Regions from separate parts of the Homo sapiens genome. Here regions 2, 3, 4, 5, 6 and 7 are each linked to region 1. Evidence: promoter capture Hi-C in 16 types of primary human blood cells and fetal thymus (Javierre and others, 2016). All regions are on one chromosome and are shown on one strand. Each heading gives the region's core, a stretch centred on a gene start or on the middle of the fragment in contact. The rest is flanking DNA. Distances are from core to core; before and after follow the strand shown.

The links. The method cuts DNA at HindIII sites, captures the fragments that hold promoters and counts their contacts. A CHiCAGO score of 5 or more calls a contact.
Region 2: a contact is called between a fragment that was not itself captured here and the fragment with the promoter of GAPDHS in region 1, in 4 of 17 cell types (naive B cells, total B cells, total CD4 T cells and 1 more). The highest score is 6.5, in naive B cells.
Region 3: a fragment that was not itself captured here is called in contact with the fragment with the promoter of GAPDHS in region 1 in 4 of 17 cell types (M0 macrophages, M1 macrophages, naive CD8 T cells and 1 more); the score reaches 6.8 in M0 macrophages.
Region 4: a contact is called between a fragment that was not itself captured here and the fragment with the promoter of GAPDHS in region 1, in 1 of 17 cell types (non-activated CD4 T cells). The highest score is 5.6, in non-activated CD4 T cells.
Region 5: a contact is called between the fragment with the promoter of FXYD1 here and the fragment with the promoter of GAPDHS in region 1, in 10 of 17 cell types (monocytes, erythroblasts, activated CD4 T cells and 7 more). The highest score is 8.8, in monocytes.
Region 6: a fragment that was not itself captured here is called in contact with the fragment with the promoter of GAPDHS in region 1 in 1 of 17 cell types (monocytes); the score reaches 5.4 in monocytes.
Region 7: the fragment with the promoter of KIRREL2 here is called in contact with the fragment with the promoter of GAPDHS in region 1 in 5 of 17 cell types (M0 macrophages, M2 macrophages, erythroblasts and 2 more); the score reaches 12.1 in M0 macrophages.

What each region holds. Positions count from the first base shown.
Region 1 is chr19:35,531,952-35,535,026 of GRCh38, reverse strand. It overlaps GAPDHS (glyceraldehyde-3-phosphate dehydrogenase, spermatogenic), which reads right to left and starts at 1,571. Exons shown (of 11, transcript NM_014364.5): 1 at 1,433-1,571. The coding sequence starts at 1,499. RefSeq lists an enhancer at 585-714. The HindIII fragment of the contact is 5,250 bases long and covers 1-3,075 here.
Region 2 is chr19:35,048,936-35,052,010 of GRCh38, reverse strand. HPN (hepsin) reads right to left here. Exons shown (of 13, transcript NM_001384133.1): 3 at 2,620-2,721; 4 at 2,495-2,536. Among named protein-coding and RNA genes, the nearest start is that of HPN, 8.8 kb to the right of the region's middle. The HindIII fragment of the contact is 5,328 bases long and covers 1-3,075 here.
Region 3 is chr19:35,069,135-35,072,209 of GRCh38, reverse strand. All of the region lies in intron 3 of HPN-AS1 (HPN antisense RNA 1), which reads left to right. Among named protein-coding and RNA genes, the nearest start is that of HPN, 29 kb to the right of the region's middle. RefSeq lists a silencer at 1,379-1,579 and an enhancer at 2,964-3,075. The HindIII fragment of the contact is 1,655 bases long and covers 699-2,353 here.
Region 4 is chr19:35,091,818-35,094,892 of GRCh38, reverse strand. All of the region lies in intron 1 of LOC124904701 (hepatitis A virus cellular receptor 1-like), which reads right to left. All of the region lies in intron 2 of HPN-AS1 (HPN antisense RNA 1), which reads left to right. Among named protein-coding and RNA genes, the nearest start is that of HPN-AS1, 13 kb to the left of the region's middle. The HindIII fragment of the contact is 6,053 bases long and covers 1-3,075 here.
Region 5 is chr19:35,137,339-35,140,413 of GRCh38, reverse strand. It overlaps FXYD1 (FXYD domain containing ion transport regulator 1), which reads right to left and starts at 1,590. Exons shown (of 8, transcript NM_021902.4): 1 at 1,520-1,590; 2 at 274-338. The coding sequence starts at 334. The HindIII fragment of the contact is 25,239 bases long and covers 1-2,859 here.
Region 6 is chr19:35,188,254-35,191,328 of GRCh38, reverse strand. No RefSeq gene overlaps it. Among named protein-coding and RNA genes, the nearest start is that of FXYD5, 35 kb to the right of the region's middle. The HindIII fragment of the contact is 1,556 bases long and covers 621-2,176 here.
Region 7 is chr19:35,855,463-35,858,537 of GRCh38, reverse strand. KIRREL2 (kirre like nephrin family adhesion molecule 2) reads right to left here and starts at 1,627. Exons shown (of 15, transcript NM_199180.4): 1 at 1,358-1,627; 2 at 1,044-1,193; 3 at 1-130. The coding sequence starts at 1,418. The HindIII fragment of the contact is 4,263 bases long and covers 1-3,075 here.

The sequences.
Region 1 (3,075 bases), core at 322-2,821:
CTCGAGGCCCACACATAGGAGCTGATTTTAATAGAGGAGGGAAGTCTGATCCTACACAGATTCCTGAGGAAAGGGAGACAGCAGGGGGTGGAGAAGGGCTGGAAGGGGGTAGTGGGAGTCCAAGTTTTTGGCACCAAATCAAAGGCACCTGGGGGGTGGTGGGGCTGGGAGCCGGGGGCCAGCTGGCCTGTCTGTCTCCCTGACCTCTCCCTGTTGCCACAGACCTTGTGGCCTGAGGCTGGACTATAGGTGTTTCCAGTGGCTGTCCAAGTTCATGAAGGTGTTAGTGTTTATTGGTGAACTTGAGGATGTTTGCATCCTTGGGGGTTGTTTCTGCTATGGGAGAAAGGGGATTTGTCCACCTGGTTCAGGTGGGAATCTGAGCCCAATGGGTGACCCTTCCGAAGAAAACTCAGATGGTCCTCCTCTCCCAGCACTCCCAGCCTTGCACTCTCTTCCCCTCCACTGTAGGGGTGGGGTCCCCCGGTTGGAGAAAAGCCTGGGGGCTAGCTGGGTGCTGCCCCCAGCTCCTCACTGCGTCCTCCCACTGAATCCCGAGAGGCATGCGCTATAAACCCACTTTACAGAGGGGAAAATGAAGCCTGAGGCCACGGAGCAGTGATGCGCAGGGCAGGGGTTCAAGTCTCATGAGGCTGGTAAGCCTGTCTGCTCCTGTGTCTTCCAGGGTCTCCTGGACCAAAGCCCCAGCCCCACCTACCCCTGCGGCCCCCGCCCTTGGGAAGTGAGGGAACAGTGTGGGAATGGAGGCAGCCCACCGGAAGACCTGGTTCCTCCGGCTAGAGTGAGTGAGTGAGTGTGTGTGTGTGTGTGTGCGCGCGCGCGGGCGCGCCGCCCTTGTTGAGAGACTAAGGAAGTAGTTTGCCCTCTCTTAACCTCTGTTGGCCGCTCTGTAAACTGCGGGCACACTCTGGCCTTCTCAGGTGGTGGTGAGGCTTCCCTGAGCTCTCGCCTGCGAAGTGGTCAGCACGTCCCCGGCAAGGTTCCAAGTGTCCTTGTTTTGTGCATCACAGGGAGGGCAAAGCTCACCTCACGCGAAGCGCCATGAACATCACTTTTACATGGAAGCCCAGCACCCCTGGGTTCTCCCTAAGCCCCTCCTAAGCCCGCCCACTTCCCGCCACTTTCAGGCTGCAGCCTCCGATGGCCCTCGTTTCTGCTCTTTCTACCGCGTGATAGCGGCGCGAAGCCCACCCAGCCCTGGGGGCGGAGGCCCGGTCTCCCCGCCATGGCAGTAAACCCCACTCTGCCAGCACACTGGCGGGTGTGGAGGGAGGGAGAGCGGCTGATCCCCTGGTCCCTAGATGGTGCACACGCCAGGAAGGGCGGTAGGGATACGGCACAGGTGTGAGGGTGCAGACGCTCCCCACTACCCTTTCCACCCCTCCCCCGCGCCCTCCGCTGCCTCCCTCACCCGGGCACGGCTGTCGCAGCAACTGGACAACGGTGACATTGGTGAGGACGATGTCGCGCTTCGACATGGCCTCTTATAAGGTTATCATTGGCCTGGACCTGCTGTGATGTTACCGAGGTGCGTGCGGAGCGCCAGGGCTGTGGGTCCTGGGCTAATTGCCCTGATGTCACAGCACCCAGTGACGTCACAGTACCCAGTGACGTCGCCGAGGGGCGGCGCCCAAGCCAGAGGCCTGACACCATCGCATCCCATCCCCGTAGAGGCATGGGACGTCAGCACGCTATGCATCACCGTTCCACGGCCACGCACTGCCGTCTGGAATGGAATCCCACTTTTTAAAATTATCATTTGTTTATTTATTTTGAGACGGGGTGTCACTCTTTCTCCTAGGCTGGAGTGCAGTGGTGCAATCATGGCTCACTGCAGCCTTGAACTCCTGGGCTCAAGCGATCCTCCCGCCTCGGCCTCCTGAGTAGCTGGGACTACATGTGCAGCCACCACTGCAGGCTATTTTTACTTTTTATTTTTTTGTAGAGAGAGGGTCTCACTCTTTTGCTCAGGCTGGTCTAGAACCCTTGGGCTCAAGCGATCCTCCCACCTCGGCCTTCCAAAATGCTGGGATTACAGGAGCGAGCCACCACACCCAGCCTGGAATCCCACCTTTTACACTGTTCCTGAAAGCCCTTTCCTCTTCTCTGTCTCTTGAAGCACACAGGTTCCATGCTGTCCCTTGGATTCTCCAGTGGAGTGACTCTTGCTGCCTCCGTATGCCTGGAAGGCCCACCCAGGGCTTCCCTTGGCTGCCTCTTGGTTTCCCACCCTTTAAGAGAGGCTTTCTACACTCTGCATCTAAGTTCCCTCCTTTCTCTGTCACTGTCAGCCGTCACCCCCTTCCCAATTTCTGCCCATCTTCCAGGAAGCCTTGTCTGACTTCTCCATTCTGAGTTATGCTTCAGTGTGCAAAATTTCTCTAGGGCTACACTGTCTATGTTTTTATTTTCCTTAGAGCACATGTCTCTCTAAAAATTGTTTGTTTTCTTGCCAACTGTCTCTGTCCACCAGACTGTAAGCTCTGAGAGGACAGGGACGTCATCTATGTCACTTCTGTATCCCATTGACAAGAAAAGTGTTTGGCACCTGAAAGGTGTTTGTGGGCTGGACGCAGTGGCTCATGCCTGTAATCCCAACACTTTGGGAGGCTGAGGTGGGAGGATCATTTGAGTCCAGGAGTTTGAGACCAACATGGGCAATGTGGCAAAACCCTGTATCTACAAAAAATAAAAAAAGTAGCCAGGTGTGGTGGTGCATGCCTGTTGTCCCAATTATTAGGGAGGCTGAGGTGGGAGGATCACTTGAGCCTAGGAGGTCAAGGCTGCAGTGAGCTGTGATTGTGTCACTGCACTCCAGCTGGGAGACAGAGCAAGACCCTGTCTGAAAAAGGCGTTAGCCCAATAAACTATACCTGAATGAATAAATGTCAATTCCTCAGGTTTCATCTGATCGCTAATCTTTTCTTTTCTTTTCTTTTTTTTGAGACAGAGTTTCGCTCTTGTTGCCTAGGCTGGAGTGCAATGGTGCGATCTCAGCTCACCGCAACCTCCGCCTCCTGGGTTCAAGTGATTCTCCCGCCTCAGCCTCCTGAG
Region 2 (3,075 bases), core at 415-2,914, 480 kb after region 1:
AGAAGCCAGTGTGAGGTGGGGGTGGAGAGGGGCCTCCACACTAGGAGGCTTGGAGCCTGTGATGGGTTGGGATTTTATCTCAATGCCACGTGTTGTCACGGAGGGGCTTTTGACAGGGGCGTGATCCCTTCGCTCTGTCTCTGATGTGTGGTCAGCCTCGGGCAAGTCAGTTTGCTTCACTGGGACTCAATTTCCCCCAAATGCAAAATGTTGGGATGTAACAGCCCTAACTTCATAGGCCTGCTGGGTAAAGGCTGCCGCCAGGGCCTGGCATATGTCAGTCTTTACTATGGCAATGAATTCAGCTGTTCTTTTTTTTTTTTTTTAACAAGCAATCAAGTGTAGACACTATATACAGTTACTACGCAGGCTGCCTGGGTTCAAATCCCAGCCCTGACACTGACTAGCTCCATGACCTGGGGCAAGTCACTCAGCCTTTCTGTGCCTCAGCATCCCCATAGGAAAATGGGTTGTGGTGGTGCACACCTGTAATCCCTGCACTTTGGGAGGCTGATCTGAGAGGACTGCTTTGAGCTCAGGAGTTCAAGATCAGACTGGGCAATGTAGCAAGATCCCATCTCTACTAAAAATTTAAAAAATGAGGTTGGGTGTGGTGGCTCATGCCTGTAGTCCCAGCACTTTGGGAGGCCGAGACGGGTGGATCACCTGAGGTCAGGAGTTTGAGACCATCCTGGCCAACATGGTGAAACCCCGCCTCTACTAAAAATACAAAAATTAGCTGGGTGTGGTGGCACGTGCCTGTAGTCCTAGCTACTCAGGAGGCTGAGGCAGGAGAATCACTTGAACCTGGGAGATGGAGATTGCAGTGAGCCAAGATCGCGCCACAGCACTCCTGCCTGGGCGACACAGCGAGACTCTGGCTCAAAAAGATAAAAATAACAATAATTTGTTATTGACAAAATAATTTTGTGTAGGCATGGTGGCATTAGCCTATAGTCCCAGCTACTCAGAAGGCTGAGATGGGAGGATTGCTTGAGCCCAGGAGATGTAGGTTACAATGAGCTAAGATCGTGTCACTGCACTCCAGCCTGGGCGACAGAGCAAGACCCCATCTCAAAAAAAAAAAAAAAAAAAAGAAAGAAAGAAAGAAAGAAAAAAAAAAGAAAAGAAAAACAACAGGTTGTTGGGAAGACTTAATGAGTTGATATCATAAGGTCCCAAGGCCTTGGCTGGTGCATACAAATGCTAAGTGCTGGTAATGATGATTAATGTTGATGTTGGCTTTTCTTGTCTGGATTTTCATTTCTGATTTTAGTGTGAACTGAATCCTTTATGGAATTAGATGAGGCTCACAGACATGAAAAATACATCCCACCACCCAACTTCCCCTTTTTTCCTGCTGTCCTGCATCAGGGAATGGCAGCTTGAAGTTGGCATTTGGGAAGATTCATTCATTCATCCCACAGTTAGTTTCTTTATCTATTTATTTGTGTGGCCATTCATTCCACATGCCTGCAGACACACTTACAGTGGATAAGTCTAAGAGCTGTTCCTGGCCCCTCGTTCCCCAGCTGCATGTCCTCTCTGGTCCTCATTTTGCACATCTGTAAAATGGAGCTAATTACCAGGGACAGGCGCAGTGGCTCATGCCTGTAATCCCAGCACTTTGGGAGGCCGAGGCGGGTGGATCACAAGGTCAGGAGATAGAGACCGTCCTGGCCAACATGGTGAAATCTCATCTCTACTAAAAATACAAAAAATTAACTGGGCATGGTGGCACACGCCTGTATTCCCAGGTACTTGGGAGGCTGAAGCAGGAGAATCGCTTGAACCTGGGAGGCAGAGGTTGCGGTGAGCTGAGACTGCACCATTGCACTCTAGCCTGGGTGACAGAGCAAGACTTTTTTCTTTTTTAAAACAAACAAACAAAAAAACTACCTCCTAGGAGAGTTAGAAGGGTCCACTGAATTTATATCATGCCTCCCCAACATGTTTTCACCATGCCACGCAGTAAGAAACACATTTTTACATCCTGATGTAGCCCATAGCTCTGTAGTCTGGGGCAAACTGCTGCATTGCTCAAAGCCTCAGTTTCCCCATCTGTAAAACAGGGAGAATAACAGTCCCACCCTCAGAGTGTGGGGATGCAGTGGGATTACATGTATATGGATGCAAAAAAAAAAAAAAACAAACAAAAATTAGCATAACCTTTACTTACTGAGAGATGTACTGTGATAGTCTGTAATCGAATCTATTTCATACTTAAAAAAAAAACATGGTTTTCCAACTCACTAATTTAATTTTATGAGGCACTCATGAGTAATACACTGGTGTCTGAAAAAGTCTGGGTTAGACATGTGGGGTGCTTAGAATAGTGCCTGGTACATAGCAGGCACTCAATACAAATGCACTATTATGATTAGCATTTCTGCATGCATTTGTGCATTTATTCAACAAATACGCTTGTTGAGCTCCCGCCAGATACACGTGTCCTCCAGGGCTCCCCCAGAGGGTCCCAGCCTGCTCCACTCACCTGGGTACAGCGGCTCCTGGTCACTCCTGAGGAGAACAGCCACTGCAGAGAAGGGAGGGGTGAGGGCAGGCAGGCTGGAGGCTGCAGGGGCCAGGGGAGGTCAGAGGCACAGGAACCGCTCTCACCAATGGCCCAGGATGCCGCCCCGATGGCTGTCAGAAGTAGCAGGGTCCCCGCAGTGAGAGCTGCCACCTTGGGTCTGGAGCAGCATGGCACAGTCCGGCCACCTGCAACAGACACCATGCTGGGGCCACAGCCAGGCCTGTCCTCATTGCGGCAGGGTCTGGGCCCGAGGCCAGCTCTGCCCTGCCCCCAGGGCTAACTTATTATGCCCAAGCATGTCCTCCCCAGGCCCAGTTTCCCGGGGCCAGCAGTTGACAGGGCTGTTCCTCCCCTGCCGTGTGAACAACCAGGTGCCCAGCTCCCCCAGGGTTCCAGCTGGGAGGGGGGCATGGCCGGGCCACCTGCCACGGTCTCCACCTCCGCCCTGCACTTTCCTGGCACTTAGGGAATGTCTCCTCCCCAGTGACACTGTGCTTTTGTATTTCTGTCTTTGCTTTGGGCCATCTCTTCTTGGGACT
Region 3 (3,075 bases), core at 277-2,776, 460 kb after region 1:
GCGGGAAACCCCGGGAGAGTATAGGATGGCAGTGAAGAAGGAATTGTTATTATTTCACTAGCATTTGTTTATTTAATACATTTGTTTTGATTTATATTGAAAAACATATATCTGCCACCGCCACATCAAACCCACAGTTTCTTTTTTTTTTTTTTTTTTTTTTTGAGACAGAGTCTCGCTCTGTCGCCCAGGCTGGAGTACAGTGGCGCAAACTCGGCTCACTGCAAGCTCCACCTCCCGGCTTCACGCCATTCTCCTGTCTCAGCCTCCTGAGTAGCTGGGACTACAGGCACCCGCCACCATGCCTGGCTAATTTTTTTGTATTTTTAGTAGAGATGGGGTTTCACCGTGTTAGCCAGGATGGTCTCAATCTCCTGACCTCGTGATCCACCCGCCTCGGCCTCCCAAAGTGCTGGGATTGCAGGTATGAGCCACTGCACCCGGCCTCAAACCCACAGTTTCATAAACATTATTGTTAAAGTCAAGGCTGGCAGGGCACAGTGGCTCATGCCTGTAATCCTAGCACTTTGGGAGGCCAAGGCAGGTGGATCGCTTGAGCCCAGGAGTCTGAGACCAGCCTGGGCAGCATAGCGAGACCCCATCACTATCAAAAATACAAAAATTAGCCAGTCTCATAACCCGGTCTCAAAATAAATAAATCAATAAAAATAATACATAAATAAAGTCAAGGCTAAGCTTAAAAAAAAAAGACACACACACACACACACAAAAGGAAAAGAGATAATTTGAATAAAACAATACAAGTAGTACCAGCGGTATTTGTTTGCCCCTAAGCTCCATAAAGTTGGTTTGTCCTGTCCCCTATATTTCTCCAATTCCTAGAACAGTGTCTGGCACATAATAGGTGCTTAATAAATATTATTTGAATGAATGAATAGCAAAAATTAAGACAGCCACTTTCAAACATCTGAATTTGGGGAAATACTGAAGTAACATGTATAAAACTCTCAGTACAGTACCTGTCACATAGGAAGTGCTCAAAAATATGCATGGATATGTTTATTAATATAAATTATTATTATTATTTAGAAGTGAAACAGGCATTGTGGCCAAATGCTAATTAGTGAAGTATTAAATTAAAGATTTGCCCAAAGCTGACTATCACCTTCTTAGAATGAACTTCTGTAATGTAAGAACAAATGTGAAAGTGTTCTAAAAAGTTATTACTGTCATAATTTTATTATCCACAATTTTAGCAGGGAAATATTTCAGGTTGAACACCTTACTGAGGGATCATTTCTCTGCTTTGTCAGCTGTTAATTTGCTCCGATAGTCCATAAGCTCCTAGGGCAGTTTTAAGATGTGGCCCCAAATTTTTTGACCTGCCTTCCACCACCAAAGGGTGGGGTCTCCATCTCCTCCTCTAGGGTCTGGACAGGTTTGTGATTGCTTCAGCTGACAGAGTGGAGCAGAAATGAGGCTGGGGTGTAAAGGCCAGTGTCTGCTGGAATGCTCACTCTGGAGCCATGAGCCACCACGTGAGAAGTTCAAATGTCCTTGGGTAGCCATATTGGAAGGAAGCCCAAGTTAGCCAGACAATGAGTCCACAGTACCAGCTGAGCTCAGCTTTTGAGTGATCCCAGCCCGGATACTAGACTTGTGAGTAAAGAGCCTCCTTTTGGGATACCGAGGCAGGAGGGTCACTTGAGCCCAGGAGTTCAAGACCAGCCTGGGCAACCAGTCCCATCTCTACAAAAAAAAAATAAAATTAGTTGGGTATGGTGGCACACACCCGTAGTCCCAGTTACTTGGGAAGCTAAGTTGGGAGGATCGATTGAGCCCAGGTGGTAGAAGTTTTAGTGAGCCATGATCACACCACTGCACTCCAGCCTGGGCGACAGAGTGGGACCCTGTTTCAAAACAAACAAACAAAAGAAGCCTCCCTATTCCAGTCCCTGTTCCTTTAGGCTTTCTAGCTAAGGACCTGGTCATCAGGGAGCAGAGACAAGCTGTGCCTGCTGTTCCCTGTCCAACTTTCTGAGCTGCAGAATCCATGAGCATTTACTGTACCCACTAGCTTTGGGTGGTATGTCATGCAGCAAGAGCCAAAACAGCTCCTCGCTTCATAACTGCAGGATTGAAACAGTGTTACTTTTTATGCAGAAACTAAAGTCCATCTCCCTACTTATGCTGCTATCTGAATGTTCACAATAATTATTTCTGAATATAAAATGAATAGCCTTCACCATCATTGCTAATCATGGCTGTGATTTTATGTATGAAATAACTGTTGTGGCAGAGTAGCTGTACATTTCTCCTTCAACCCAGCTGGGAGAATGCCAACTTATAACCACATATGGAGCTATCTGTTCCAACTAACATCCAGAAAGCTTTTCTATATTTGAAAAGGACTATGTAGATATAAATGCTAAATAGGAATGCAAAACTTGGCTTGGGTTCCTGATGTAGTTGCACTAATTCTGTAAGATGGGTCAAATATTTCTGATTCTGAGCGGCACCACAATGACATGGAAGTAATTTTCATATTCAGCTTTTCTGAAGACTGAGACCCTGGCAGGAACTGAAAGCAACCTTGTGACTGTTATTATTCTTTTTAAATATCTTCCTAGCTCTTTGGGGTGAGTGGCAAGGTTGCTGGGAGCAGGAGGAGAAACTGAGGCTCACTGACCCCTGGCATACAAGGGAAACCAGTGAATGGCTGTTGAGTGAATCACAATCTCCCCAGCCCCTCCACTCCTCCAACAAAGCAACAGTGCAGACAGAACTCAGAATGGCTGTCAGAGGCGTTTGAACCAGAGCAACTCCATCTTAAATAGGACCTGGGTAAAGTAAGGCGGAGACCTGCTGGCCCGCATTCCCGGTAAATTAAGGCATTCTAAGTCAGAGGATGAGAGAGGAGGTCGGCACAAGATACAGGTCATAAAGACCTTTCTGATAAAACAGACTGCAGTAAAGAAGTCGGGAAAACCCACCAAAACCAAGATGGCCATGAAAGTGACCTCTGATTGTCCTCACTGCTACACCCCCACCAGCGCTATGACAATTTACAAATGCCGTGGCAATGTTGGGAAGTTATCCTATATGGTCTAAAAA
Region 4 (3,075 bases), core at 287-2,786, 440 kb after region 1:
AGGGCATTTCTGCGTCTGGACTTTGCACCTAAGGTTCCCTGTGCCTGGAGGGCTCTTCCCTCATTGCTCATAAGGCTTCTCCTTCCCTCCAGCAAGTCTCTGCTCCAAAGTCACCTCCTCAATGAGGCTTTTCCTGCTCACCCTGTTTAAAAATTATAACTCCCACCCCATACTCACAAGCACTCCTGATTCTCCTTTCTAGTTTTATTTTTCTAGGACTTATCACCATCTGAAATATTATGTATTTATTTTTTACTGTTTGTCTCTCACTATTATAATGTGCACTCTAGGAGAGAAGAGACCTGTCTCTTTTGTTCTTTGCTGTGTCTCCAGAGCCTACAGCAGGGCCTGCTACAAAGTAGATACTCAGAAAAATTTTGTGAGTGGATGGATGGAAGGATGGATGAGTGGATAGATGGATGGATGGATGGATGGATGGATGGATGGATGGATGGATGAATGGATGAATGGATGGAAGGATGGATGAGTGGATGGATGATAGATGGATGAATGGATGGATGGCATAGGCCAGGTGGTAGGTGCAGGTGCCCTGGAAGTGGGCTATGGCCCCATCGAAGGTGAAGTAATGAGGATCTCCAGTGGCCATGCAGGTGCCCAGGGGGCTCTGGCAGCCCAGCTGGCCACCCTGCAGACCACAGATCTTCCCAGTGGGGCAGCACGCCGGGCTGCAGCGGAAATGCCCCGTTCTGTCACAGCTGCAGCGGCGGGTGCATCGGTTCAGCCAGACCAGGTCGGAGGCCAGATCAGCATGCCCTGCCCAGCCCAGCCCAGGTGGACCCAAACAGGGCCTGGTGGAGGCCCGAGGCTGGCCTGGCAGCTGACCCAGAAGAGCAGAGGCTCAGGGGCCGGCTCAGCATGGGATGGGCAGGAATGCCATGCCCAGATTCAACAGCTGGGGGTCTGACCATCATGACAGGCTACTGCCTTACCCAGAGGGCAGCAAACTTGTGACACCTGCTTTCTCTCAGTGGAAAGCACAGCCTAGTGATTAGCAGCACAATTTTGGGGTCAGAGAGACCTGGAGTCCAGACCTAGCTCTGTCCCTTGAGATCTCTGTGCATCCTGTAGCCTCAGTTTCCCCCTCTGCACATTGGAGGCAATCAAAGGGCTGTTTGAAGGTCAGTGCGGTCATACGCATGAGGCTCTCACCACCCAGCTGGCCTACAGTAACCAAGTTCTTGACATATATCTGATACCATTATTAATAACATGCTGGCCCAGTGCTCAAGGCATAATAAGCACTCAGAAAATATTACCTTTTATCCCGATGACAGGATTACACACGCAGCAAATGACCAAAATATGTTCACGATGGTTATCATTATATATCATTAACTGGTTAGCACAGCAATACAGCAGATGCCTGGTACATACCAGCCATTATTATTGTTAATATCACCATTATTTTAATATGCTTACACAAGGCACATTGTAAATGCCCAAACTCTTAATATATTAGCCATTATTATTATTATTACTATTCATAAAATGCTTAGCCCAGGCATGAACACAAAGTAAATACCCAATATATTTTAGCTTATTCATTTAATTATTTTTTTGAGATGGAGTCTTGCTCTGTCACCCAGGCTGGAGTGCAGTGGTGTTATCTCAGCTCACTGCAACCTCTGCCTCCTGGGTTCAAGCAATTCTTGTGCCTCAGCCTCCCAAGTAGCTGGGACTACAGGCATGTGCCACCATGCCCGGCTTATTTTTGTATTTTTCAGTAGAGACAGGGTTTTGACATGTTGGCTAGGCTAGTCTCCAACTCCTGACCTCAAGTGATCCGCCCACCTTGGCCTCCCACAGTGTTGGGATTACAGGTGTGAGCCACTGTGCCCAGCCCCCAATACATTTAAAATTTTTTTTTTTGAGACGAAGTCTCACTCTTGTCCCCCAGGCTGGAGTGCGATGGTACAATCTCGGCTCACTGCAACCTCTGCCTCCCGGGTTCAGGTGATTATCCTGTCTCAGCCCCCGAGTAGCTGGGATTATAGGTGCCTGCCACTAAGGGAGGAGACCACCCCTCATATTGTCTTATGCCCAATTTCTGCCTCCAAAGAAAGAAGTAAAAGCCAAAAGACAGAAATGAAATCCACAGGCAGACAGCCCGGCGCCACACCCTGGGCCTGGTAGTTAAAGATCCACCCCTGACCAAACCAGTTATGTTATCTATAGATTACAGACATTGTATAGAAAAGCACTGTGAAAATCCCTGTCCTGTTCTGTTCTGTTCTTACTGGTGCATGCAGCCCCCAGTCACATACCCCCTGCTTGTTCAATAGATCACGACCCTCTCACGTGGACCCTCTTAGAGTTGCGAGCCCTTAAAAGGGACAGGAATTGCTCACTCGGGGAGCTCGGTTTTTTGAGACGTGAGTCTTGCCGATGCTCCTGGCCAAATAAAGCCCTTCCTTCCTTAACTCAGTGTCTGAGGGGTTTTGTCTGCAGCTCGTCCTGCTACACCACCACGCCCAGCTAATTTTTGTATTTTTAGTAGAGACTGGGTTTTACCATGTTGGCTAGGCTGGTCTAGAACTCCTGACCTCAGGTGATCCACTCGCCTCAGCCTCCCAAAGTTCTGGGATTATAGGCATGAGCCGCCGCGCCTGGCCACATTTTAATTATTATTATTAGCAGTATGGGACCTGATGTGTGATCACTACTCAAATGTTGGCCATCAAAATAATACAAATGGTTTGGGTGTGGTGGCTGATGCCTGTAATCCTAGTACTTTGCGAGGCTGAGGCAGAAGGATCCCTTGAGTCCAGGAGTTTGAGACCAGCCTGGGCGATACGGTCAGACCTCATCTCTACAAAAAATTTAAAAATTAGCCAGACATGGTGGCACGCAACTGAAGTCCCAGCTACTCAGGTGACTGAGGGGGAGTATCATTTGAGCCAGGGAATTTGAAGCTGCAGTGAGCTAAGATGGCGCCCGTGCACTCTAGCCCCAGCAACAGAGCAAGACCCTGTGTCAAAAAAATAAATAAATAAATAAAATAAAAATAAAAAAATAAAAATAAACAAAAAATAGCACTGACCACAATGCTAAAAC
Region 5 (3,075 bases), core at 341-2,840, 390 kb after region 1:
TAACTGCCCCAGCTCCCTGACTCACGGCAGGCTGTCTGTGACCCAGTTATCCCATCGGGGATTCAGCCCCATCCCACCCCATCTTTGCCTGATCTGGGGCTTCCTCTCCCCTCCCCCAAATACCAGCCTGTGACTGGACCCCACGTGGAGACCCCCAAACTTCTTGGTACCCCAGCCGACTTAGTCTAGGTTGGGGTCTCCAACTTGGTTCTTCGGTCCCCACCGCCACCCCTGGGGCTGAGGTGGGTAGCGGGCAGCCTCCCCTGCACTCACCTGCCTTGGCCATGGTGAGGAGACCCACACAGAAAACCAAGATGTGGCCAAGAGACGCCATTGTCCTGGGGGGGACACCACGGATTAGGCAGTGTGTGCCCTTGCTCTCCCACATAGGGCTTGAACCCAAGGGATTAAGTCAGAGACAGTCTGGGGACTGAATCACAGAAGTGTTTGTCCTCTATCTTGGTGGCTCCAAGCTAGAGAAACGGGTATCCCCAGCTTCGTGGGGACACAGTGTCACCAAAACAACCTCCACGATGGGATCACACAACAACACAACGTAGCAGGGACGGGGGTGAGACACACAGTCCCCGGGGGGCCTCCCTTGGGCCTCCACCTCCCGCAGCAGGCCCCCGATTCCCAGACCTACCCTGGCAGGGCAGAGGAGGCGCTGCCTCACACAAACACAGAGCAGGAGACAGCAGGGCACGCCCAAGTCCCACCTGCCTACATGCCCGGCCTCACTGTGCCCCGCGAAATCCCAGCTCCCTGCCCTCTCCGCCCGCCCGCTCGCGGCCTGACCCCGGGTATAAATATCTCCCACTTCACCCTGGAGGAATTCTGCTCGCTCAGGCCACCATGGCAACAGCCTGCCTTCCCCCACTCAGGGGGTCACGCACAGCCCTGCCGGGGTGAGGCCCAGCTGCCACATCGCCACAGGCTGCCCCTGTGGGAAAGGTCACCCCGTCTCCTCCCTGGGCAGCAACGAGAAAAGGAAAAGACAGCCCCTCTGCCCGCCTCTGGGTGACATCTTTCACAATCGGATGTCAGGCAAGTGACATGAGGCCCAGCCCAGTGGGCCTTAGAGATAGAAAACACATGCTGGGGCAGGGATACACACACACACACACACACACACACACACACACACACACAGTGGGGCCGGAATGGACATGAACAACAACCTCTCCCCAAACTGCTGGTTGGAGCAGGACGTGGGGTGTAAACACCGTCAGGCATCCAATACTCCTCCTCTGGGCCTCCGGTGCCCCCACGCAGTGACGCAACCAGCCCTACACACGTGTGTGTCCCAACTCCACACCCTGCCAGGGTGCACACGCACCAGCAGGGCAGGGAGGAGTCACCCACATCCCACCCTGCAGAACCCACTGCCTCAACCACACTCCCTCCCTCTTGGGTTGGCCTGCCTGGGAAGCCTCGGGCTGGCCACTCCTGCTCCCAAAATAGGCGGCCCAGCCAGACCAGGGGTGAGGCCTGGAGGGAAGGAGTGGGGGACGCTCACCCCAATCGGGCTGTCCCCTGCTGAAAGAAGGCCCCCAAACGTCCTGCTGTGCCCCGGGGGCTGAGCACTTTGGACCCCCTGGCCCAGAGCTGGACGCGCCGCCCCCAGCAGCCTCCCCTCCCAGCCCCACCCCACCCATGCCCTCCCCAACCAGCAGCTGAAACTGGAGCTGGGGCTGGAGGGGGGCCAGGGGGCGGCCCCCAGCCCAGACTGCCCTGGCCCGCTTGGTTAACTCTCTCAGTTCAGAGAGAGCAGCAGCAGGCAGCCAGCAGGCAGGCTGGAGAGGCTAGGAGGATTGTGGAGGACAGGGTTGTGAACACACACACACACAAACACACACGCCTCCAAGAGCTTTTGGGCTGAGGCGGCTGCCCCCTGGGAACTGGGTCCAGCCAGGGCCGAAGGTCACCCAGCCTGACTGCCCAGGAGCCCACTGACCCCCGATCCCAGTGCTCCGTGAGGTCCTTAACAGGGCTGTTTTAGAGGACGGGAGGGAGGTGTGTGTGTGTGTGTGTGTGTGCGCGCGCATGTGCGCTATCTGCTGTGGTGAGATCCCCAGAAATGCACCACACACACACACCCACACACAATCCCAAAGACCCAGATATACAGGTACAAAACCAGACAAAACCATGTATGTATGTACATCCATAGAAGCAGACACACACAGAATGACACACTGATAGAGAAACCCAAAGACCCGGACACACAGCCAACACCTTTTATGCCAGTCACAAAATACCAGAACAAGCACATTTATGTCTACACAGACCCACGCACGCTCATGTAGATGGATGGCCACACAGAGATACAGTCAAAGACATAGCCACATCACCATCTACACTCACAAACTGGCCACAAAAATGCATGTTTATGTGAAGACCCACCCACAAATGGCCATACAGAAACACACAAGTATGTGCACACCGCACATAAATGCATTCTAAGATGCATGGCCAAACATGGCCAGGTACGGTGGCTCACACCTGTACTCCCAGCACTTTGGGAGGCCAAGGCGGGAGGATCACTTGAGGCCAGGAGTTCAACACCAGCCTGGCCAACCCGACGAGAGCTCGTCTCTACTAAAAAAATATACAAAAATTAGCTGGGTGTGGTGGCGTGCGCCTGTAATCACGGCTACTCCGGAGGCTGAGGCAGGAGAGTCACTTGAGCCCGGGAGGCAGAGCTTGCAGTGAGCTGAGATCATGCCACTGCACTCTAGCCTGGGCAACAGAGCGAGACTCTGTCTCAAAAACAAAAACAAAACAAAAAAACCCCAAAGGTACAGACATGCAGCCAGCACTCCTACATGGTCCCAAAGATAGGAAGGCCAACAAGCTTGTGTACACACAGACAGATTTCCATGGGCACAGATACACAAGCAGAAACACCATCAAGGACAACCCGCCGCTCTCACACATACCCACAAAAGCAGAAACACACACACTGGTTCACACCCTATGCTTGAGCAAACAGGCACATGGTTGGCCACGGTGACAGATGCGCAGGCTGACACACTTGCATGTTCACACATTCCAAAACCACAGATATGTATT
Region 6 (3,075 bases), core at 149-2,648, 340 kb after region 1:
TGCCCAGGTTGGTCTTGAACTCCTTGCCTCAAGTGATCCTCCTGCTCTGGCATCCCAAAGTGCTGAGATAACAGGCATGAGCCACCATACCTGGCCAGCATTAAACTAGAAATCAATAACAGGAAGATAACAGGACAATCTTTAATCATTTGAAAAATAGGACATTCCAAAGGGAATTAGGAAATATTTGTAGCTGAAAGAAAGTAAGAAACCTATCAAAATTTGTGGAATTCTGTTAAAGAAGTGCTTATATAAAAATGTATAGTCTTAAATGTTGATTATATTAGAAAAGAAGAAAGATCTCAAGTCAATAATCTAAGTTTTCACCATAGGAAATTAGAAAATGAAGAGCAAAATAAACCCAAATGAAGAGCAAGGAAAAAATAAGTGCAAAAATCAATGAAAACAAAAAAGCAATAGAAGAAATCAGTAAAACCAAAAGCTGTTTCTTTGAAAAGATCAGTAAAATTGATAAACCTCTAACAAGACTGAGGAGAGAAGAAGGGAGAGAAAGAGATAGAGGTAGAGATAAAGAGAGAAGAGAGAGAAGGGAGGGATTATCAATATTAGGGTAGAAAGAGGACAGCTATCACCACAGACCCTATAATTATTAAAAAGCTTATAAAGGAATATCAGTAATAACTCTATACACATAAATATCAAAATTTAGATGAAATGGACCAATTTCTCAAAAACTACCAGCTACTACATTCACCACTGTTGAAATAGATAATATGAATAGTCTAGTAACTATTAAATAAATTGCATGTATAGTTAATGCCATTTTAAAAAATCTCCTGGCCCAGGTGGTTTCAATGGTTTTAAATAAGTAATTTAAAGAAGAAATAGCACTAATTCTTCATAATTTCTTCCAGAAAATACAAAAGGAGAAATACTCTCCAACTCATGTTATGAAGCCAGCATTACCCTGATGACAAACCAGATAGACAGTACAAAAAATAATAATAAACACAACTAAAATACTCCTCATGAATATAGATGCAAAAATACTCAATAAAATGTTAGCAAATTGAACTCGGCAATATGTAAAATGAGTAGTAAACTATGACCGGCCGGGCGCGGTGGCTCACACCTGTAATCCCAGCACTTTGGGAGTCTGAGGTGGGCGGATCACCTGAGATCAGGAGTTCAAGACCAGACTGACCAACATGGAGAAAACTCATCTCTACTAAAAATACAAAATTAGCCAGGCATGGTGGTGCACAGCCTGTAATCCCAGCTACTTAGGAGGATGAGGCAGGAGAATCACTTGAACCCAGGAGGCAGAGGTTGGGGTGAGCCGAGATCCTGCCATTGCACTCCAGCCTGGGCAACAAGAGTGAAACTCTGTCTCAAAATAATAATAATAATAAATGAATAAATACAATAAACTATGACCAAATGGGATTTATACTAAGAATGCAACAATGGTCCAATTTTTTAAAATCAATCACTATTACCATATTAACCATCTAAAGAAGAAAAATCATGATTATATCAATAGGTGCAGACAAAGTATTGACAAAATAAAACACTCATACATGTTTTGTTTTGTTTTGCAAAAAATAATCCTAGCAAACTAGGAATAGAAGAGAACTTCATCAACCTGATAAAGAGCATCAAAAAGCCTACAGCTAATATCATACCAAACAGTGAAAAATGAATGCTTTCTTTCTTAAGATTGGGAACAAGACAAGCATGTTCACCATTTCTATTCAACATCATATTGAAAGTCTTAGCCAGTGTAATAAGTCAAGAAATGGAAGTAAGAGGCATATAGATTGGGAAGGAAAAAATAAAACTGTTCCCATCCCCAGTTGAAATGATTGTTTATGTAGAAAATCTCAATAAATATAAAATCAATCAATAAATAAAACAAAAAACCCCTGGCACTAATAAAGAAATTTTGTAGGAAACACAAGCTAATATGGCAGATGTAAATCCAATTGTATAAATAATAACATTAAATGTTGATGAAATGAACAATTCAATTAAAAGTCAAATATTTCAGACTAGATTTTTTTTAAAAACCAAGATACAGCCAAAAGCTATCTATAGGAAAAACATGTAAGATTCAAAAATGTAAAGTAAAATGATGAAAGACAATATATCAATATATCATGCAGTGACTACAAGAAAGCTGGAGTGGCAATACTAACGTCAGAAAAAATAAGCTTTGTAACAAAAAAGTTATTACAGATAAAGAGAAGCATTGTATAATGATAAGGCGGTCAGTCCATCAGAATATATAACAATATAAACACATATACATCTAATAATAAAGCACCAAAATACATAAAGCAAAAACTAATAAAAATGAATAGAGAAATGAACAAATCCACAATAATAGTTGGAGACTTCAGTACCTCACTTCCAATAATGGATAGAACAACTAGGCATAAAATCAACAAGAAAATGGAAGATCTGAACAGTATTAATCAACCAGATATAACAGACAACTATAGCACACTTCTCCCAACAAAAGCAGAATACACAATCTTCTCGACTGCACGGAGAATATTCTGTAGGATAGAACCTGCACTAGGCAACAAAACAAATCTGTATAAAATTTTGATTTTAAAATTAAAATCAAAATCATGCGGCTGGGCACAGTGGCTCATGCCTGTAATCATAGAACTTTGGGAGGTTCAGGTGAGAGGATCACCTGAGGTCAGGAGTTCGAGACCAGCCTGGCCAACATGGCGAAACCCTGTCTCTACTAAAAATACAAAAATTAGCCAGGCATGGTGGCGATCTGCAATCTCCACCTCCTGGGTTCAAGCGATTCTCCTGCCTCAGCCTCCCAAATAGCTGGGACTACAGGCGCCCGCCACCACTCTTGGCTAATTTTTTTGTATTTTTAGTAGAGACAGGGTTTCACTATGTTGGCCAGGCTGGTCTTGAGGCCAGGCTGGTCTTGAACTCCTGACCTAGTGATCCACCCTCCTCAGCCTCCCAAAGTGCTGGGATTACAGGCATGAGCCATCGTGCTGGCCGTAAATTCTTTTTTTTTTTTTTTTTTTTTGAGATGAAGTCTTGCTCTGTCGCCCAGGATGGAGTGCAGTGGTGTGATTT
Region 7 (3,075 bases), core at 378-2,877, 320 kb before region 1:
GGTCTGGAGCGGAGGCCTGCTTGTGTAGCCTGACATTCATATGATGCTTCATCCTCTAGCTCCACGGGCCTAATGTGGAGGTCATGCTGGCCATTGGCTGCATTCCCTGATATCCAGTACCGGGACCACCCTGGAGTCAGGGAGAAGGCAGTCAGCACACCATGGTTCTGAAATCCTGGCCTCAGGCCTCCATCCCCAGACATCCTCCACCAGAAAACTGGCCCACACATTTGGTGGTAAGACACTATTAAAAAGTGTGTACTGGGCCCAGAGAGACTCTAACTCCCTCCCAACCCAGAGTCACTGCAAACTTAGGGGTAATAAAGTCAGGAAGGAAAGCAAGAAAATGATTGCCATAAAAATTAGGTTAGATACTACTTCTGGAGTGAGGGGGAGGGGGCTATGATAGGGGAAAGGAACACGGGGTCTTCTGGGGAGCTAGCAATGGACTTGGGTATTGGCTGTGTGTGTCTATTTTATTTGGTAAATCTTCCATTTATATTTACTGTACTTTTTTGCATTTATGTTCTCTTTTTTTTTTTTTTTTGAGACAGGGTCTCACCATTGCCTGAAGTGCAGTGGCTTGATCATGGCTCACTGCAGCCTTGAACTCCTAGGCTCAAGCAATCCTACCACCTAAGCCTCCTGAGTAACTGGGACTATAGATGCACACCACCATACCCGGCTAATTTGTTTAAAATATATATATACATTTGTGTAGAGATAAGGTCTTGTTATGTTGCCCAGGCTGGTCTCAAACTCCTGGTTTCAAGCGATCCTCTGGCCTCAACCTCCCAAAGCGTTGGGATTACAGGCGTGAGCCACTGCACCTGGCCTATGTACTATTTTGCAATAACATAATAATTCCCAAACTCCGTGGGTCACCCCCAAAGAAGCAGCTCAAAAATCAGGACTCCTAAATGTTTACCCGAGCCCATCAATTTCCCAAACTTGAAAATGTCAAAATAGAAACTGCAGGTACAGCCGAGCCCAGCAACTCTCCCCCTAGCCAGCCCGTCCCAGCGTGGAGAGAACACTCTTACCTGGTAGGTCCCTTTGGCCCCCTAGGGCCAGCCCACTCTTAGTCCACTGAACTAGCCCCCAGTAGGCGCCCAGAGCACACGGCAGCCGGGCTTCCTCCCCCAGCAGCACCACCAGGTCCTCTGGCTGTTGCAGGAAATGGGGCGACGGGCCTAGGAGAGTTCGGGGCAGCAGGGCTGAGCTTAGCACCTTCAGGGGCCTCCTCATTCAGGACCCAGGAGTCCCAGCCCCCAGCTCCCTTCTCGCTAGTGAAGAGGCAGCCCGCAAGCAACTCCCCACCCCCACCCCATATTCCTCCGCTCCCCTCGTGCGGTACCTGCTCTCCCTCTGAAGCAGAAGAGGAGGACGAGGAGGGCGGGGACCCGCATCCTGAGCATTCGTCCCCCAAGGTTCACGAGATTTGCCGTCGCACTGGCCTTCCCGTCAACTTCTTCCTCTCAAGCACGCCTCCTGTCACCCTGGCCCGGAGCCCCCTTCACGCTCGACTCTTCGCCCAGCCTAGTCTCTGGCCTGGAGTCCTCCAAGTCTGCTCATCCGCAGCCTCTGACGCTCTGAAACGCCTGCCAGTTCCGCGGCCTGGGTCTCTGGGAGACCCCAAGAGGGCCCGATCCCGCTCGCCCCGCCCGGGTCCGCCCCCCGGGAGCTCCGCCCTCTTCCCGTTGAGAAACTCCCGCGGCTGAGACGCGGATGAATGGGGGACGCAGGGCGGGATCCCCCGGCGGGTGGGCGCCCCCAGCTCAATTGGGGTCTGGGAGCCGGAACACCTGGGTTCGAGGAGGGAGGGGGTCCCGGCTGGGTTGGACACCTGCGCCCTGCCGGGGTTGAGGGGCAGGCAAGGGGTGAGGAGGAGGGAAGGGAGAGAGTGGAAGAAACTTGCTCAGCCCAGGTCCTAGAGGGACTGCGCTCAGTGGAAACTGAGCTATAAATGGGAGCTCCTGGGGCCTCGCCAGTTTCCGCGCCCTGGGGGATGCGGGGTCCGGGGCTCCCCCGGGCCTGCGTGTCGGGAAGAGGGCACACCGATACCTGGGGGACAGTTGGGACCCCTACCTCGACTCCCCCAGCCTCAAAACCCCTCCTCAAAATATCCCTCTGTTCCCTTGTTATTGCTGCAAACTACAGCACGTCCTAAGACCCAGGAATCCAGGCCCTCGGCCCCTCCTTTCCCAGGACCCCGCAGTCCCAGCCCAACCCCTCTCCCCACTCGGCCGGCCGGGCCCCTCGGCCTGGTTGCCCGGCGACGGCTGGGAGGCGGCGGTGCCGGGCCGGGGCAGGCAGGGAGGCTGGGAACCGCGCAGCTTGTCCTGACGGCTCCATGCAGCCCAGCTGGGGCGTTCCCACGCTGCGCAGCTGGCCGAGCAGGTGGGAGGGACCCCGAGCAGCCTGAAGGAGGGCTGGGGGGCTGGGACCCTGATCTGACATTCCTGGACCTGTAAGAACTGGAGGGTCCACATTCAGATTCTCCACTGTTCTTAGGCTCAGACTCCGTGTCCCTAAATGGGGGAGTGGGGTTGGGAGTGGGGGTTGGACTTACAGGGTTATAAGGGACTGGTGGTTCAGGCCTTTGCTGGCTGAGACGCTGATGGCCTGATCTCCCGGTTCCTTGAGAGGCTGGAGACTCAAGGTGCACTCAAGTGCATGGTGCACTTGGAAGAGGGTGACAGGGGTCAGAATATCTGGTCTTAAGTCTTAAGAGTCGGTGGATCTATCTGCCAATCTCTCCCCACCCCCACACAGGCCCAGGAGGATTTGGAAATCAGACCGTGAACATCTGTCCTAAGTCCTGTGTGTATGTGTGTGTGTGTGTGTGTGTGTGTGTGTGTGTGTGTGTGTGTGTGTGTGTATGGGGAGGTGCGGGGGTGGGTAGTGTGGCCAGGAGGATCAGAGGCCCAAATTCCCGAGTCCTTGGAGAGAAGGGACTGAGACCCCAGGGTCTGAGAGGGGAGGGATCTGGGGGCCTACACTCCCGGCTTCTGTGTGGCTTATCTAGTGCCTGGATTTTGAAATAGGATGGACATGGGGCTGGAACTCCTGAGT